Linked DNA regions of Homo sapiens: regions 2, 3, 4, 5, 6 and 7 are each linked to region 1. Evidence: promoter capture Hi-C in 16 types of primary human blood cells and fetal thymus (Javierre and others, 2016). All regions are on one chromosome and are shown on one strand. Each heading gives the region's core, a stretch centred on a gene start or on the middle of the fragment in contact. The rest is flanking DNA. Distances are from core to core; before and after follow the strand shown.

The links. The method cuts DNA at HindIII sites, captures the fragments that hold promoters and counts their contacts. A CHiCAGO score of 5 or more calls a contact.
Region 2: a contact is called between a fragment that was not itself captured here and the fragment with the promoter of ACTR1B in region 1, in 1 of 17 cell types (monocytes). The highest score is 5.9, in monocytes.
Region 3: a contact is called between a fragment that was not itself captured here and the fragment with the promoter of ACTR1B in region 1, in 4 of 17 cell types (monocytes, neutrophils, M1 macrophages and 1 more). The highest score is 11.3, in monocytes.
Region 4: a contact is called between a fragment that was not itself captured here and the fragment with the promoter of ACTR1B in region 1, in 3 of 17 cell types (activated CD4 T cells, neutrophils and monocytes). The highest score is 6.8, in activated CD4 T cells.
Region 5: a fragment that was not itself captured here is called in contact with the fragment with the promoter of ACTR1B in region 1 in 3 of 17 cell types (activated CD4 T cells, fetal thymus and monocytes); the score reaches 6.7 in activated CD4 T cells.
Region 6: a contact is called between a fragment that was not itself captured here and the fragment with the promoter of ACTR1B in region 1, in 4 of 17 cell types (megakaryocytes, M1 macrophages, M0 macrophages and 1 more). The highest score is 8.1, in megakaryocytes.
Region 7: a fragment that was not itself captured here is called in contact with the fragment with the promoter of ACTR1B in region 1 in 2 of 17 cell types (monocytes and M0 macrophages); the score reaches 7.0 in monocytes.

What each region holds. Positions count from the first base shown.
Region 1 is chr2:97,662,775-97,665,329 of GRCh38, reverse strand. ACTR1B (actin related protein 1B) reads left to right here and starts at 1,286. Exons shown (of 11, transcript NM_005735.4): 1 at 1,286-1,487. The coding sequence starts at 1,440. LOC124900516 (U4 spliceosomal RNA) reads left to right here and starts at 599; the gene lies at 599-739. It also overlaps a transcript of C2orf92 not described here and the pseudogene RNU4-8P. RefSeq lists enhancers at 768-1,107, 2,148-2,217, 2,183-2,555 and silencers at 1,188-1,647, 1,728-1,787. The HindIII fragment of the contact is 7,381 bases long and covers 1-2,555 here.
Region 2 is chr2:98,578,246-98,580,800 of GRCh38, reverse strand. The region is part of intron 24 of INPP4A (inositol polyphosphate-4-phosphatase type I A); the gene reads right to left. Among named protein-coding and RNA genes, the nearest start is that of COA5, 29 kb to the left of the region's middle. The HindIII fragment of the contact is 8,329 bases long and covers 1-2,555 here.
Region 3 is chr2:98,508,618-98,511,172 of GRCh38, reverse strand. All of the region lies in intron 1 of INPP4A (inositol polyphosphate-4-phosphatase type I A), which reads right to left. Among named protein-coding and RNA genes, the nearest start is that of INPP4A, 65 kb to the right of the region's middle. The HindIII fragment of the contact is 9,429 bases long and covers 1-2,555 here.
Region 4 is chr2:98,468,092-98,470,646 of GRCh38, reverse strand. The region is part of intron 1 of INPP4A (inositol polyphosphate-4-phosphatase type I A); the gene reads right to left. Among named protein-coding and RNA genes, the nearest start is that of INPP4A, 25 kb to the right of the region's middle. RefSeq lists a silencer at 1,728-1,857. The HindIII fragment of the contact is 3,455 bases long and covers 1-2,555 here.
Region 5 is chr2:98,448,943-98,451,497 of GRCh38, reverse strand. All of the region lies in intron 1 of INPP4A (inositol polyphosphate-4-phosphatase type I A), which reads right to left. Among named protein-coding and RNA genes, the nearest start is that of INPP4A, 5.4 kb to the right of the region's middle. The HindIII fragment of the contact is 183 bases long and covers 1,180-1,362 here.
Region 6 is chr2:98,399,946-98,402,500 of GRCh38, reverse strand. No RefSeq gene overlaps it. Among named protein-coding and RNA genes, the nearest start is that of INPP4A, 44 kb to the left of the region's middle. The HindIII fragment of the contact is 200 bases long and covers 1,177-1,376 here.
Region 7 is chr2:98,383,230-98,385,784 of GRCh38, reverse strand. It overlaps CNGA3 (cyclic nucleotide gated channel subunit alpha 3), which reads right to left. Exons shown (of 8, transcript NM_001298.3): 5 at 2,344-2,397. Among named protein-coding and RNA genes, the nearest start is that of CNGA3, 38 kb to the right of the region's middle. RefSeq lists enhancers at 1,248-1,823, 1,824-2,401. The HindIII fragment of the contact is 1,518 bases long and covers 547-2,064 here.

The DNA.
Region 1 (2,555 bases), core at 37-2,536:
ACATTTTAATCATTCATTGAAATGTACATGTACACTTGTGATTTCTGCACACCCGCTTCAATTTTACAAATTTTATGCTCACAACCCATTGGGAGAGGTATATATACAGGGAAATAACTATGGATCCGTTTGGTAAACAAATGTAGAACTCAACTATCCTGCACTCTTGAAGCAGCTGACTCCAGTGCCGCAGGGGGCTACCTGCATGCCAATTCCACACCCAATAATCTTGGGCAGGTTACCAAAGTGTGAAGACCCTGACTGAAAAATGGGAGTAATAATACAACTACCTGATATTGTTGCAAGGATTTAATATAACTTATGTAAAGTGGGCAGAAGTGCTCCGCAGGCACAGAGCAGGTGCTCAATAAATGCCAGGACCAAAATACCACGAAACTGTAATTTTTATAAGGAAAAGGATCTTTTCTTCAGTGCTCAACGAGGAAATATTATGGGGCCGTGCGCAATAGCTGACGCCTGTAATCCCAACGCTTTGGAAAGACTAAGCGGGAGGATCGCTTAAGCTCAGGAGTTCGAGGCTAGCCCGGGGAACATAGCGAGATCCCTTCTCTACAAAAAAAATTTTTTTTAATTAGCTAGCGTTGCGCGGTGGCCGTATGGTGGCCAATGAGGTTTATCCGAAGCGCGATTATTGCTAATTGAAAACTTTTCGCAATACCCCACCGTGACGACTTGCAATATAGTCGACATCGGCAATTTTTAACAGTCTCTACGGAGACTATTTCAGTAAAAATAAATAAATATGGTGCGCGCCTGTAGTCCCCCCTACTGGCTGGCGCGGGAGGATCGCTTGAGCCCAAGATTTCCAGCCTGAGCGACAGAGCAAGACACCTTACCTAGAAAAAAAGAAAAAATAAATATTTTGGGTGAAATATCCAGGGCCGGCCTCCTTGGAGAGGGCGCTCTCACGAAGGAGCGTGGCCCGAGGTGCTGGGACGCGGGAAAGACGTCTTTCTGGACCGGTGCTGGGACGCGGGAAAGACGTCTTCCTGGACCGGTGAATTTCCAGCTCCACAGACTCCGGCCGCGCGCACACCAGCCCAGCTCCACTTTCTGCCGCCCGCGTCCCCTTTAAGACGGAGCCATGACATCATCCCAGACACTGCGCAGCCTACCTTGGCAACGCCGCGACCACTTTTTTCCGGACGACCTCAATTGGCTGGCCAGCCTCCGGAGGCCCCGCCCCCTTCGCGCAGCCAGCCCCGGGCACCTGCTGTCAATCGGGCCAGGTGGGAGCGATGATTGGCCGCCGGGCCCGCCCTCCAGAAAGCCCCGCGGGGCTCGCGTAGGCTGCAGGCTCGGGGAGGGAGGGCAGCGGCGCCGCGTCGGGAGCCGCCGCCGTCCCGGTCCTCCCGCCCGCCCGCCCATCCGGTGCCTCCTGCAGCCCGCCTGCTGGGCAGGGCCGGCGCGGCCCGGCCATGGAGTCCTACGACATCATCGCCAACCAGCCTGTGGTCATCGACAACGTGAGGCCCGGCAGCCAGGGGGAGGGCGGGCGCCCCGCCCCCGGGGGCGCACGCGGCGGCGCAGGGAGAGACCCCCGCCCGCCTCGGCGCGTCCTCCGCTCACTGCGTGGCCGTCGCCCCCGCCGGGCCGCTGGCTTCGCCCCGGGGGCGCGCGCCCTCTTGGCCTTGTAAGGCCGGCCATGGGGCGAGCCCCCTCGCCCGCGTCGCAGAGCCTCTTCCCCGACCCCTCCCCGAGTCGGGCGGGGAAGTTCAGGAGAGCTTGAGTGACAGCCGGGCGGCCGGGCGGGGACGCGCCCCGGACTCTTCTCAGTTGAGAGTGCGGTTCCTGGGCAGGTTTCCACACCAGTTCCTTTCCGCGTCCTTCGGCCCTGGCTCTGGCTGCCTGGCGGAGGTGGGGTAGCATTTGTCATTTGCACACTGCTGGCTTTATCTTTGGGGCTGCACCCCGAGGCAACAAATGCAGGATGCTCTGTCACCCACATGTCCACCACCATCTGGTTTGCCTTTTGGCTACTTTGACTTTCTCCTTAAATGCTTCCTGTGCTGAGCAAACATTCCACAGCCAGCAGAGCAATGGAGAGTTCATGGCCACTCTTCCCAGTATCAGCAAGCAATTTGGGGTGATCGTTTGGAAGCCTCAGAGGAAAGATGTCATCAGGCTTCCTGTGGCTTTGTCCTTCAGCAGTGGGGCTCGGCTTGCTTTCACCTGCCTTAGGAAGATTTCTGGCTTCCGAGCTCTGATATGGGGAGAAGATAAGGGCTGGGATCTTTGAGTCTGCCCCTAGCTGGGTATGTGCGTCCGGTGTGCGGGCCTTGGAGTTTTTGGTAATGACTCACTTGTGCTCTTTCTGGGATCTGTCTCCCTCCCACATGACCCCGTGGGGTCCCTGAATGACTGTTTTAGAGTACCCATGTGGGTTCCCTGAGTCACAGCAGGGGATGTTTAATAAGGAGGTTAGCACTGAGCTTGGGGACGTGCTGTCACACCAGCAGGACGCTGCAGGAAGGAGCAGGCTACTTCCTTTCTTGACGTGCAAATAACTCGTATAGGCTAATCAACAGGCTTAT
Region 2 (2,555 bases), core at 32-2,531, 920 kb before region 1:
TGCCAAGTGGCAGCAGTGACACAGAATCAGAGGCCTGAGGACACAGCAGGCAGCCTGTGAAGGCTCCACTTGGAGATGGGGAGGCAGGAGGCCCAGGGTTCCTCTTCACACAGAGCCCTCCCCAGCTCTCCCAGAGGAGCCCCGAAGCCCCCATGGCCCTGCTGGAATGTGCCATTCTGAGAGGGCACAATTCCCAAGCTGCGGAGCACCGACCCACTGCCACATTCCCTGCCAGGAGAGGCTGGCAGGGCCCTGTGGCTACTCAGGAAGGCCTACTTCGAGGGGTTCAGCCCCAGGACTGGGGACAGGAACACCCCAGTGGCCAAATGTGTGAATCTCTTCCCAACTCCATGTTCAATGGTGCCACATGGGAGCTTGAAATGGGCCCTGGTAGAAGCGTTTATGCCACAGAAATGGCAAACATTACAGATCAGGGCTTTTGGGGAGAGAGCTGGTGGCTGAACATTTACAGCACAGCACTGGCCATGGTTCACCCTGGGCCTCCAGGAGAAAAGCCTGGGTGCCAGCTTGGCCCCCACCCCCTCCACCCCCACCTGCATGCTCTACTCTTCCGTCTGATAAGATGCAAGCCAGAAAGCCAGGAACCAAAATGTCCTCCTGCACCCACGGGCAGGGTGGAAGTTTATGCTGCCTTCTGGGGCCCTCAGCTAAACTGCAGGTACTCGGCACCCCAGCAGCCAGAGCTGCTAGCTTGTGACCCAGCCACCTCGGCTTGCAGCCGCCTGAACAGGTACATGTCTTCCCCTCATGGGATCGTATCGAAAACAGAAGTCACCTTAAAACAAATGCCTGTGACAAGAGCCTCAGACCTGCAAGGGTTGGCTCAAGGTGGCAGTGAGCCATGTCCCCAGAGCTGGTGCGAGAATTCTGGGGCAGGCACAGGTAAAGTAGGATTGAGCTTTGTTTTGTTTTTATAACTTCTTTAAAAACTATTAAAGTGATACATGTTCACTGTAGAGATTTCAGAAAACAAAGAAATAAGCAAGTAAAAAAGGCATCCATGATTGGAGGCAGGGGTGGGGTTTAGAAAGGAAGAGGGCAGGGTGGAGGGAATGCTGCCTGTTCCCACAGGAGGAAGGGCCTTCCCTTTGCCAGGCCCCAGGGCCCTTACTGCTAATGCAGAGAAACAACAGCCCTTACAGCTTCAGAAGCCTCACAAGAGTGACAGGAAAGACAGCGCCCGGCATGGGCAGTGCCTCGTGCACTCTGGGACACTGGGCAGGAGAGTGGCTACTGTGGGGACCATTTGGTGATCTGTACTAAAATTATTCAAAAGCCTTACAAAGGTGTATACTTTTTAACCTAAGGCAATGTGGCTAGGGGAATGTATAAGGATATTCACTGCACCTTTGATTAAAATGCTGGAAAACCATATACAGCTTAAATATTCAATGACAGCAAATTGGATAAATTATAGTGTGTAAAATGCGGCTGGGCATGGTGGCTCACGTCTGTAATCCCAGCACTATGGGAGGCCAAGGTGGGCGGATCACCTGAGGTCAGGAGTTTGAGAACATCCCGGCCAACATGGCCAAACCCCGTTTCTACTAAAAATACAAAAAATTAGCCAGGTGTGGTGGTGGGCATCTGTAATCCCAGCTACTCAGGAGGCAAGGGCAGAATTGCTTAAACTCTGGAGGTGGAGGATGCAGTGAGCCAAGACTGCACCATTGCACTCCAGCCTGGGTGACAGAGCAAGATTCCATCTCAAAAAAAAAAAAAGAAAAAAAAAGTGATAAGGTCTACATTTATTAACCTAAAAAATGCTCACAAGACTGTTATTTGCAAATATAATTACACTTGTTTGTGCATGTGGGTGTTTTTGTTCTGTGTAATTCAGGGACTGGTTGGCCCATGTGTACATACTCACGCCCATAGGCATGTACGCATGTCTCTTATCTAGACAGTATGTATCCAAATGTCCGCAGCGCTACCTGTTCACATTAGGAAACTGGGGGATTCTTTGTGGGAGGGTTCTGAGGAACTAGTGTAGGGGCTTATCTGTATTTCCTAATTTTCCTACAAGGATTTTCAATTCCTTATGTGAGTAAAAGTTATAAAAAGTGCTTTGTGCACTATACATCCTAACAGCTGTAACTGTAACGGCTGTCCTGAGCACACAACCCAAGTGTGCTAGGGGCAGGCGGATGGGGCCCTTGCGGGTCTGGGCTCAGTGACAGGCCTGCCATCGCACTGTGGCTCTCCAGGGGGCCACTTTGTCACTGGTCTCCTGAGGTCTTTGTGTTCAGAGGTGGTCAGAATGAATTGTTTCCGTTGAACTTGTTCGAGAGCCCGAGAACTGAGTAGAGGTTTCCGCATGGACTGTGTGCCTAACTTGGGGTGCCAGCTCCTGACTGGCCCTGATCCTGCTCCTTGCTGCCACTACCACAGGGATCCCTGTCCACTTTGTTCTCCTTTCTTCACTGGCTGAGGTCTGCAGCTCACCAGAATGTCCCCTCCCACCACCGTGCAGCTAATGGGCACAGGCGTGGCTGCCGTCCCTCAGCACCAGGGTCACACTGGACATCAGGCCT
Region 3 (2,555 bases), core at 30-2,529, 850 kb before region 1:
CAGAAGAATCGCTTTAACCCGGGAGGTGGAGGTTGCAGTGAGCCCAGATCGCACTACTGCACTCCAGCCTGGGCAACAAAGCGAGACTCCATCTCAAAAAAAAAAAAATTGAATCAAGCACAGGAAGAGAAGTAACATGCTGGCAATGCGTATCCCTTCTCACCTGCAGACACAAATGACCTGACTTAGGGCCCCCGAGCTTGTGCTCACTGGGAGATGTTCATTTATCTCTGGCTTTCCATTTCCCAAGCCCTACTGTCTGCCAGTGATGATGGACAGGCAGCAATGGCAATGAGTTAACTTCATTTACTTAACTGACATGCCTCATTAGTTTAATAAATATGCTTACTACTATAATACAGGGCCTGAACCAGAATACAAATGCACATCCCAGACTCCAATGGAGGGAGTCAGTCACTGTGCTACAGTCTGAATGTGTCCCCCAGAATTCCTTATGTTGAAATGTAGCCATCAATGTGATAGTATTAAGAAGCGGGGCCTTTGGGAGGTGATTAGACCCTGAGGGCTCTGGCCTCATAGGTGGGATTAGTGCTGTATGAAAGGGCTGGAGGGAACTAGGTAGGCCCTTTTTGCCCTTCACCTTTTGTCATGTGAGGACATGGCAAGAAGGCCCTCAGCAGACCCTAAATGCCAGCGCCTTCCCAACATCCACAGGTCTAAGAAGTACATTTCTGCTGTTTACCAGTCTCAGTTATTTTGTTATAGCAGCCTGAACTGACTGAGATACCTTGGATAGGGACATGGATATCCCTGTAAACAAGAGGGCAGAGGAGGATGCTCCAGGAGCAGAACAAGCCCAGACCGTTCCAGCCTTCCTCTTTCACCTCACCAGCCCCTCAAGGTTTCCCATCTCAGTAGATGGAGTTCTGTCCTTCCACTTGCTCCAGGCAAGAAATAACATCCTGGCCTCCTCCTCCTCTCACATCCCACATCCAATCCATTGACAACTCTATTAGCTCTATCTTCCCCACAAGTACGACTTCAACTCCCTTAGTACCCCAACTCCCATACCCTGGGAATTTGACCAGCGTCCCTCCCACAGTCCTCACAGTCTGTGTCCAACTGCAATGACGGGGCCTGTGAACCTCCTAGCAGTGTCTTCATCCTGCTCCTGCCCTGGCCTCTTTGCTGTTTAGACTTTTATCTGGTGTGGCCTTTGCATCAGCCACCCTCTCTGGGACTGCCCTTCCTCAGATAACAAGGCAGGCAATTCCCTCACTTCTTTTATGTCCTTCTTGGTTCCCAGCTTCTCCTGGAGTTCTTTGGGACAGCCCAGTTTACAACTGCAGCTCAGCTCCTTGTGGTTCACCCATATACCATGAACGTTCAGGGGATTTTCTGTAAGAAGCAGTTTGAAAATAAGTTGCCCTGAAAAAAGTGCTTTAAAATGTTTGTGCTGAGCAAAACAGGTGCTCACAATCTGGGAGATGAGTGAGATGTGTCAATAATCACAAGCGCAATGTCTGGGAGGTGCCAGGAGCAGCCTGGGGTGGGCGGGGATCTGCCGACTGCCTTCCACACCACACACTTCAGCCACTCTTTCTTCAGCACCTCCAATTTCTTGCTTCTGCACCTCATGCTGTTTCTTCTCTGTAAACTGGCAATCTCTTTAACACAGCAGTCCCCAACCTTATTGACACCAGGGACTGGTTTTGTGGAAGACAATTTTGGGGGGCTGGTCAAGGGGAGTGGTTTCGCGACGAAACTGTTCCACCTCAGATCATCAGGCATTAGTTAGATTCTCATAAGGAGCACGCAACCCAGATCCCTCACATACGCAGTTCACAACAGGGTTTGTGCTCCTACGAGAATCTAATGCCACCGCTGATTGACAAGAAGTGGAGCTCAGGCAGTAATGCCTGCCACTCGCCTCCTGCTGTGCAGCCCAGTTCCTAACAGGCCACAGGCCAGTACTGGTCTGCAGCCCGGGGACTGTGGACTCCTGCTTTAACAAACAGTTGAGGGTCTATTATGGAGCAGGCCTTAGGGATACAAAGATGATAAGAGGCTTGGTCCAGAGCTACATCACAAAGTGTAACAAAGATGAATGGTAGACAACCTGAGGCCCACAATGGTGGGGGCCAAGCCTCTTCTGAAGCCTTCCCTTGGGTGAGGGGCTGGCTTGCTACTCTGTCCTTTCCAGGCAGCGGCACCCCTGGGTTCTGCAGCCAGGGATTCTGGGGCTTTTTCTTGAGGTGAATCAACCCAGTGTTCCCATACATGACCCCTCTCACTCCCGCGCACCAGGCCTCATTCGTCATTTGATTACCACATCAATTTCACAATACCACAGACAAAGACAACAGGAACACTGTACATGGCGGTCTGCTGTCAGAGCTGCGTGGTTAGGACTGCAGTCAGCGTGCACCAGGAGCAGCGCGGTTCTCTCTCCTACAACAGGCAAGGACTTTGACAAGTCTCATTTCTTACTCCATTGTCACTTGAAACCACTTGAAGCCCTCACACAATTAACTGAAAGTTTGCCCGTCTGTTGTCCAGGAAGTCCTTCCAGCGTGTCACATAAATTTCTGAAT
Region 4 (2,555 bases), core at 41-2,540, 810 kb before region 1:
GCTCCTCCTGCAACATGGCCCTGAACCACGTCTAACCAGAGGTCACACCAAGGAAGTGACCACCCAACTCAGCACCACTTCTTCCTGTGGTCCTGGTATCATGCTTCCCCTTCCTGCTCCTTCAGTGCCTGGCTGAGAAGGCGAAAGGCCCCACCAGGCCTCCTTGCAGGGGCCGAAGCCCAGCGGGCCATGCCTCCCTGCGGAGGGAAGGGACAGACCACTAAGGAGCAAGGACTTAGAGCTCAGAAGCAGCGCCAAGTGAGTCTCATGCCCCTCCTGAGGCAGGAGTCCAATCAGGGGAACCCCAGGTGGGGCTGCACGTGCACTGGGTCAGCCTCCAGGGGCCAGGTCTCCCCACCTGCACCACTGGGTCCAGAGCTCTTTAAAATCCAGGGGCCGCTCCCCAGTCTAGGACCACAGGGAAACACTCTGAGTGCCAAGCACTCCCAATGGCTCACTGGAGCTCTGTGGTCATGAATTTACAGACTCATCAACATGTCATGTGTTCTTCTCCAGCCACAGGCCACTGTGCTGAGAAGTGGCCAGAACCAGGGCTGTGGTTTTACCAAGTGAGATGTGGACGGACAGGGGCAGGAGGTCACGTGCGTTGGCCCTTTCACATCAGTCATGACTATGCCTCTATGACTGTGGAACCCTCCTTGGTGCACAGCAGAACATGCTGCAGCTCTGCACATCACAGTTCACCTTCACAGCCTGAGAGAAGGAGGGGACTGAGGCTCGGCATCTAAGAGACTGGCTCAACACCAATATGTGGGGATTTGAAACAGGTGGGCCTATTTCATCAGGAGGCCAAGTTCTTTTTGTTGTTGTTGTTGTTGTTTGAGACGGAATTTCTTTCTTGCTGCCCAGGCTGGAGTGCAATGGCGTGATCTCAGCTCACCACAACCTCCACCTCCCAGGTTCAAGGGATTCTCCTGCCTCAGCCTCCCAAGTAGCTGGGATTACAGGGATGCGCCCCAACGCCCGGCTAATTTTTTGTATTTTTAGTAGAGACAGGGTTTCTCCATGTTGGTCAGGCTAGCCTCGAACTCCTGACCTCAGGTGATCTGCCTGCCTTGGCCTCTCAAAGTGCTGACATTACAGGCATGAGCCACCGCACCCGGCCCAAGTTCTTTTTTTTTTTTTTGAGACGGAGTCTTGCTCTGTTGCCCAGGCTGGAGTGCAATGGCGCGATCTCGGCTCACTGCAACCTCCGCCTCCCAGGTTCAAGCCATTCCTTGCCTCAGCCTCCCGAGAAGCTGGGATTACAGGCGCATGCCAGCCACCACACCCGACTAATTTTTGTATTTTTAGTAGAGATGGGGTTTCACCATCTTGGCCAGGCTGGTCTTGAACTCCTGACCTCGTGATCTACCCACCTCGGCCTCCCAAAGTGCCGGGATTACAGGCGTGAGCCACCGTGCCCAGCCAGGAGGCTGGGTTCTAAACCTCTAAGGCCCACTGCTCTCCACCCCAGCTGTACCTCCAAATCACCTCATGGGAAAGGTGGCAAATGTCATGCTGGCCCCACCCAGGATTACACTAATTAGCACAGCATGGGTGGAGGGCAGGCTGCCATGTTTTTCAAAAGCCCCTAGGTGATGGTAAGGTACAGCCAGGATGGGGAAAATTGCAACACTATTCCAGTTCCCCTTACCCCCAGCCCCCAAAACCCCTTTTCCCAGCTGTTCACTTTATCCTGCCATGGTTGACTCATCTCTGCTCTGCTCAAAGCCATCTCAGCAACCACTGTGGGAGGCATTCACCACGCCTCCTAGGCTGGAAGTACCAGTGTGGGCGTGATGTAGAGACTTTGGGTCTCTCTGGCTCTCAATCTCAGCCATGAGCTTTGCATCTAGTTACAGCTAAACTCATGGTCCAGCAATGAACCATGAGGAGTTATCGACTTCTATCATCATCCTTCACAAACTGCAGTCTCACTGGTTTCAGGATCAACAGAACCATCAAAAAGAAATGCCACAGTTCTTAGAATGAGAAATGCGACCCACCAGCCACACACTAAACAGCATTTATTTTGGTTTGGATTTCATTCCCCTTCCTTCCTTTATTACCCTCCCCTAGTGGCACCTTATAAATTTTCTGTTTTCAGCCATACATGGTGGCTCATACCTGAAATCCTAGCGCTTTGGGAGGTCAAGGTGAGAGGATCATTTGAGGCCAGGGGTTCAAGACCACCCTGGGTAACAAAGCAAGACCCCCATCCCTACAAAAAAATAAAAAATAAAATTTAGGCATGGTAAGGCATTTCTGTACTCCCAACTACTCAGAACCCTGAGGTGGGAGGATCACTTAAGTCCAGGAGTTCAAGGCTGCAATGAGCTATGATTACATGGCTGTACTCCAGACTAGACAACAGAGCAAGACCCTGTCTCAATCAATCAATCAATCAATAAAATTGTTTTCTTTACTGAGACATTAAAATTGGTATATCTAAGGATCTCACTTTCTTACTGTAAAACCTCAAAGTTTTACTATTAGTCCACTAAGATTTACTCAGGGTTATTACAAATTCAATTAGTTCATGGTCTCACTGA
Region 5 (2,555 bases), core at 22-2,521, 790 kb before region 1:
GGAGGATCCCAGGACCGGAGCTGGCAGCGGGTAAACACTTTCCTCTTTCAGAGGTCCCCACCCTTCTTCCTGGACATCAGAGGACATCCCTGTCTTCCTGACCCTATTCCAGAAAATAGACCTCACCAGAGCATGATCCCCCCACTGCCCCCACCATATACATCTGCTTACTGTGCCTAAGTCCCTCGCCAGGTGAGCCTCACTGAACAAGTTTCATATTAAAAGGCCAGCAGTCTCACCCATGCTCCAGGTTAGGGCTGTGGGCAAACACCAGAGGCCAGCTGGGCTGGCTGGCTGGCAGGCCTGGGCCTGACAGCCTGATAGGGCATGACAAAGGTATGTGCAAAGACCAGAAAGAGACATGCACACTGCACCCAGGACCCTGGCTTTCCAATCCCAGACAGGCTATGGTGAAAGGGACAGCTAAGGCCGGGTGCAGTGGCTCATGCCTGTAATCCCAGCACTTTGGGGGGCAGAGGTGGGTGGATCACCTGAGGTGAGGAGTTCAAGAACAGCCTGGCCAACATGGTGAAACCCCGTCTCTACTAAAAATACAAAATTAGCCAGGCATGGTGGTATATGCCTGTAATCTCAGCTACTAGGGAGGGTGAGGCAGGAGTACTGCTTGAACCCAGGGGGCGGAGGTTGCAGTGAGCCGAGGTTGCAGGCTAGAGCCACTGCACTCTAGCCTAGGCGACAGAGTGAGACTCCATCTCAAAAAAAACAGAAAGAGACAACTAAGAGATTAAATCCACAGAGGAAAGGCTGATCTAATTCCAAGCTCTGCCAACCACCCACACTCTGTATACGAATCCATTGTAATGCTTCCGTTCTGCACACTTACTAGGCACCAGGATTAAATGTTAATTCATTTAATCCCCCAACAAGCCTCTGGGGCTGCTACTACCAGCAGCCCAGTTTTGTGGATGAAATAACTGAGGCACAGAAAGATTAAGCCACTTGCCCAAAGTCACACAGCTAGCTGGATGCTCACAGAAAGTGCAGCACCAGAGTCCACAATAGTTCTAGGGATAAAATAAATGGTTTCGAAAGATGTGTATGCTCAGCAAAAAGGACTGTGTAAAAGAAATTCCTGATTTATAAACCAAAATACTGAAAACAGAAATTGTTGATACTGGCAAATCCAGGTAATCAATTTTTATCCCTCATTGAAAAGCTTTCATTTTTCAATCCTGTGAAGGAAGTTAGGTGATATAACTGGGTTTTAGTCCCAGTTGAGCCTCTTTTAACTACCCTCGGGGGATGCTCTAACCACTCCTCAACACCACAGCTCACCTTTGGACAGAACCTCCCACAGGATGTCCAGGGAGGCCTGGCATGCAGGGGGTACTCAGAAAAGCTTGGGTTCCTTGTCATTTAGGACTTTAAAAAAAAATTAAAAAAGCATCACACTTAAAAAAACATTCTAAAGCTGCCAAGAATAAAATTCAAAGTTACCGTAACTTCCACAATCTAGTAAGATAAGGAAAAACAGCCCAACAAGAAAAAATGAACAAAGGATATAAACAGGTAATTCATTAGAAGTTAAAATATACATTAACAAGAAAAGGTATCCAATATTTTTGGTAATTTGGGAAATGCAATTAAAACAATAATGTCTTCCTTGCCCATTAGATTGGCAAAATTAACAAGATTTATTCTCTTAAATGTTGGCCAAGTTAAAGGGAAACAGACAGTTTCAAAGCCTAATGGAAGGAGTACAAATTTAAAAAGCAAGCCACAGAAAATTTTGTGTAATGTGACTACATTTATGTTTACAATGAGAGCATCTATCCCCTGAGAAGGTCTAGAATGGGTGACACCTCAGTAGCAACGAGAATACATAGTGCCTACATCTCGGTTTTTATACCACTCTCCACTAAAGGAAACCAGGACTCTTTGGAGAAATGGCTGATTCCAGGGCTGGGACAAGGAAAGTATAAGCTGAGTCCTTGAAGATTTTGTGCCTGGAAGAAAAGTCCTCAAAGAATGATGAGCACTTGTCAAAAGGACACAAAAGCCAGACTGAAGGGACTCCCACTGGCCAAATCTAGGATAATTTGAGCAACAAAATGCATAATGGGAGTAATGGACTATAATCTATTGAATAAAGCAAGAATTCATGAGTCCAGTGATGTAAATCAAAAAGTAAATAATAGAGAAAGGAAGGTTTCTTCCTTTCAGTACAGTTCCAACTAATAAATATAGAAGGAACCATGAAAATCATCATCTGCCTACTATCATAATAATTGACTCAGGTAAGAAACATCAATGAATTCTGAAACTAGTCAGTTAATTGTATGAGCAGTAACTATATTTACATAGTCTCAAATTCTCTTCCTTTAAGACACAGATTAACTACAAAGGGAAAAATGGTAACTTTTCCATGAGATAGACACCACCTTAATTCAAGTGATCAAAGTTAGCAGGGCCAGAGAATGGGATAATCACAGCATATGCCTCCTGATGGGATACATTAAGAAGGCTGCAGCATTATTCGGGCACAGTGGCTCACGCCTGTAAACTCAGCACTGTGGTCGGCCAACGCAGGAGGA
Region 6 (2,555 bases), core at 27-2,526, 740 kb before region 1:
AGTTTTAGGTTCACAGCAAAATTCCCATATACCTGCAACATACTTCATATTTTTGAAAGTGGTATCAAAGGTGCATTTGCTGTGACAGATGAACCTACACTGACAATTTTTCTCTTGAAGTCCATAGTTTACATTGGTGTCCACTCTTGGTGTTGAACATTCTGTGGGTTTTCACAAAGGTATAACAACATGTATTTACCACTACAGTATCATACAGAGTATTTTCAGTGCCCTGAAACTCTCTGCACTCCACCTGTTTATGCTTCTACTCCCCCAACCCCTGGCAAACACTAATTTTTTTTTTTTACTTTTGCCACAATTTTGTCCTTTCCCAAATGTCATATTCGGAATATCTTTTTTGATTTTTAAGACATTTTTCCTTTCCATCTTTGATTTCTCTTAAAACATTGCTTACTATGTTTATTTGCTCTTGTGTTCCTTTTAATTCAGTTTTTAAAATTTTTTTTGTTCTTTTATTTCTAGTACTTTTCTGAGTTCTGTTACAGCTCTTGTCAAATCTTCCTTTTCCTCAATCACCTCATCCTTGATTCTGGTTTATGCTGTTTTTTTTTTAATAGCATCTATCATTCTCTTAATTTCTCTTGGCTGGTTTTGAAATGATGAGTCAGTTTACATCCGTTCTGTGGGCATGTCTTTCTGGTGGGTTTCATTATCTGCAGAGATGTTATACTCCATCTGATTCTTCCTCGCTGTCTTTTTAATAAAGACTTTGCATGAAATTTGAGGGTGCATCTTTTCTGTTGTTCGTCTTCTAAGTGAGTTGAATGTGCTTATACTTTAGAGAGAAGAGATGGAGCATGATTTACTTTTTTCTAACTTCATAGTTCTCTAATTCTCTCTTCGGCTGTTTTCTCAAAGTGATAAAAATATATATGAAGTAGTGCTACCTCCTCTGCTTCTCTACCCTCTTTTATCTAAACTTTTTCTTTCCTTTGTCACTACTGTTTCTGTCCTGTGATCAATTTGGATTTTACTCCAAATTGTCTCTCAGTGAGGGGTTTTGTCTTAGAAGGAAGCTTCTTTCATACTAGAAGAAAACATAGGGTAAATCCTCCATGACATTGATCTGGGAAATTATTTTTAAAGATGTGAACCCAAAAACACAGACCACAAAAGCAAAAATAGACAAATAGGATTACATTAAACTAAAAAGCTTCTGCACAGCCAAGGAAACAAACAAGAGTGAAGAGACAACCTACAGAATGAGAGAAAATATTTGCAAACCATACATTGATGAGGGTTAATATCTAAAATATATAAGGAACTCAAACAACTCAATAGCAAGCAAACAAATAACCCAATGTAAAAATGGGCAAAGGATCTGAATAGATGTTTCTCAAATAAAGAAAGAAGCTTTATTCTGTGAACATCCAGAGTGTGCAGCACCGAGAGTGTCCCTGCACATCAATCTTGCAGCATCATTGTCAATTTGCTGTCACCCACAAATTGATCCCTGCAGAATCTCCCTTAATTCCAGCTGTTCTCAGACAGGCTCTCCATGCTTTTTAGTGAGCACCTGTTGGTGATTTGGGTGTTTTCATATCCTCAGGGATGTCAGATGTTGTCTGTGGATCTTTAGATTTGTTATCTTATTTGCTGTGTTTTATGTGAGGACTTAGAGAGCCCAACAAACTACACTGCCACCACCACCATTTTTCCAGAATCTCAAAAATCTTAATGAAGTTTCTACCATAATAATAATACATATTCTTTAATTGTTACATTGCCTTCCTCTCTCTGATCTTCCTGCCTCCCACTTATCAGAATCCTTGTGATTATATCAGGTCCCCTTGGAAAATCCAGGATAACTTTCCCACCTCAACCTCCTTACTGTAATCCCATTCACATGACCAGTTGATATTGACATTATGTTCCCCCATGGCAGTGTAGAGGCTGCTGGATCCTTGGCTCCAGTTCTGAGTGCAAGATCCATCAATAAGGCTTTACATCCTGGGGTGGAAAGTATCAAATAATCTACATATATGATCTGGAATCCTTCTGTAAAAAATATGTGTCCTTTCTCCCTCATTAATTTATTTATTCAATCATTCATTTATGGCATAGACTCATGGACTTTTATACTTTGGGATATAGTCTAATACTAAATTTAAAAATTTTGTTTTTCAAATGGCTTCAGTTTTGGCCATTGGGAGCTCTTTCAGGTTGGTTGCTATGTCCCTCTAATTTACTTCCATCATTGTGTGTGTGTGTGTGTGTGTGTGTGTGTGTGTGTGTGTGTGTATGTAGAAAGCCCTATCGCCACTTGCCCCCCAACATTGTGCTTTTTGAGTACTTTCCGGCACTACAAGACACTCCATGCTCATGGTATATTTTCCCCGTCTCAGCCCTAGAATCAGCCCTGGTTCCTTTTATTGGAGAAAGATATTTGGAAACCAAGATCTGGGTGCTTGGTGTGCTCTTTGTAATAGGTATCACTGCCAAGCCTTCTTGGTACACAGAGTTAGAAATATATCTATGTATACCAACATATATATACATACACACACACACACACACACACACACACACCTACA
Region 7 (2,555 bases), core at 56-2,555, 720 kb before region 1:
CCAGAAGCAGAAGCTGCTATGCTTCCTGTATAGCTTGCAGTACCTCAAGCCAATTAAACCACTTTTCTGATAAATTACCGAGTCTCAGGCATTTCTTTCTAGCAATGTGAGAATGGACTAATACACTTGTCCAAGGTCACAAAGCTCTGAGGCAACTGAGTTGGGAAACAGATGCTCTTAACAAGTATATGTATATATAAAATATATTGTATCAATCTAAGTATTCAATATATATGCCTAGGAAGAAGTTGGAAGTATATTTGTCAACATGTTAAGTGGGGCTATCTCTGATAGTGGAATTCCATGGTTAGCATGAAGTGCAGTTTTTGTGTGTGTATGCCCCTGTGTGCTTTTCTTGTTTTCCAAGTTTTCAGCAAGAGTATTTCAATAAAGTGAATTAGAATAAAAGGTTATTAAAATCATTAAATGAAAAGAGCAAGGAAAGTTACCCCTCCTCTGTCCTCCAGGGTGATGTGAACCCTGGTCTCTTTTCAGGCACTGGAGTCTTAACGTCAAGTCACCAGCAGACGGCGCTGCCCTCAAGCTTTTTGGGTGAGCTTTGCCCTGCAGTTTACGCCGGACTCAGCTTGCCTTGTGCAAGATTTGTGGCCCTGGATTACGGGCCTTGGCCTGTCTGGGTACCAAACTGCTGAGAGCCTAGGAAAGACCCAGCACCATCGGCTGCATCCCCAAATCCACCCAGCACTGCCCCAAAAGAACCCTACACAGAACTGCAAAATGCTGCTGGTTTTGGCTGGGAACAGTTTGATGGGGGAGGGAAAAATTATTCAGGACAAATGAGACCATATGAAAATGACAGAAATGGAGTGAAGAGTCGGGGAAGGTGTTCATAAATAATTATTTTGTGTGTGTCCTCATTTTGGGATAGTTCCCAGTTTTGTCCCTTGGTCCTTGGCTTCAAAGTGGACCAGTGAAGTGAGCCCATTTATTGAAAGATTGAAGAGCCGGGTGCAGCCCACGCTATCCACCCACATCCTTGCCCACACCCCAGCCCCAGGACAAAGATGCCTAGAAACCCCCAGGACCTCTGTCCATGGTTTCAGTATCTGGAGCCGTTCCCTGCCTGAAAGACTTGATACTGCAGCTGCAAGGGTGTTTAGTGTCAGGTTTGGCTTTAAGTCAAACACATATCACTATAGCTATTGCTTTGTAGATAAAATCATCTCATTTTTCGTTATGGCTGGCATTTGGGTCTCTGGATTTGATGTCCAAATTTATGCAAACAAAAGACATGCTTCCTTCATGGAGAAAATAGAAAAAAGTTCTAGCTGAGGAACAAAGAGAGAAATAACAAGAAAAACCCTTGGCACATTTCTCTGTCTGTTGGAAGTCAAGAAATCGGCATTTCTCACTGATATAGGTATTTTTTCCCTAATCTCCAACTAAGACTTCCCCTCCTGAATAGTGCCACGCTGTCCCTAATCTGCCACCTTAGTATCTGGTGATGGAAAAAGGAATTATAGCAGGTCACCCTTTGAAGAGGCTATTCTCTGGACATATTTAAATTGCCTTTTTCCACTGCTCTGATTACGCCCCCAAAATTGGCCCAAATTGGCCTTAAAACACGGGAACTTCAGGCGAGGCGCAGTGGCTCATGCCTGTAATCCTAGCACTTTGGAGGCCGAGGCGGGTGGATCACGAGGTCAGGAGGTCGAGACCATCCTGGCTAACACGGTGAAACCCCCCCTCTCTACTAAAAATACAAAAAAACTAGCCGGGTGTGGTGGCGGGCGCCTGTAGTCCCAGCTACTCGGGAAGCTGAAGCAGGAGAATGGCGTGAACCCGGGAGGCGGAGCTTGCAACGAGTCAAGATGGCGCCACTGCACTCCAGCCTGGGTGACAGAGCAAGACTCCATCTCAAAAACAAACAAACAAACAACAATAACAACAGCAGCAAAAACAAGGGCATTTCACTGGCACTCAAGAGCCTGAGGTTGTAGAATAAGAAAATGCCTTTTCATCATTAAGGAGAATCTCCAGTGCTCTGTCAAGGAACTCCGGTTCTGCACCCTCAGATATATCGTGGTATAGAGTGCTAAAGCTTAAAGCATTTATCTGATCCAATTCCTTTGCTTTATGGATGAGAAAAATGAGAGGCGAAGAGATCAGACGACTTCCCCAAGAAGTCACACAGATCTCATCCCTCCCCGACTTCTGTCCACAGGGATGGAATTCCAACGAAGGGAACAGGATTCTAAAATATTCTACTGGTGCTCTGGGAGTGGGGAGCAGGAGCACTAAGGAGAGAGGCCAAGCTGGGGCTTCTATGGGGTGGAGGGCACCGGGCTTGGGGAGGGCTCTGCTGGGTGTGTGGGTACTTACTCCTCCTCCGTGTTGTTGCTGGTGTTAGTGTTGCATTTGGCCAGGGGCCAGGCGCTGCGGGAAGGTAGAGAGAACATCAAGGGTCTGAACTCTGTTTCCATTCCTTGGGGCCATTTCACCAGGGGATTACCATGCCCCACCCCCCAATCCCTATCCCACTGCTTCCAGCCTTTGCACTCACAGCTTGAAGAATACGGGGTGGTATTGTCAAG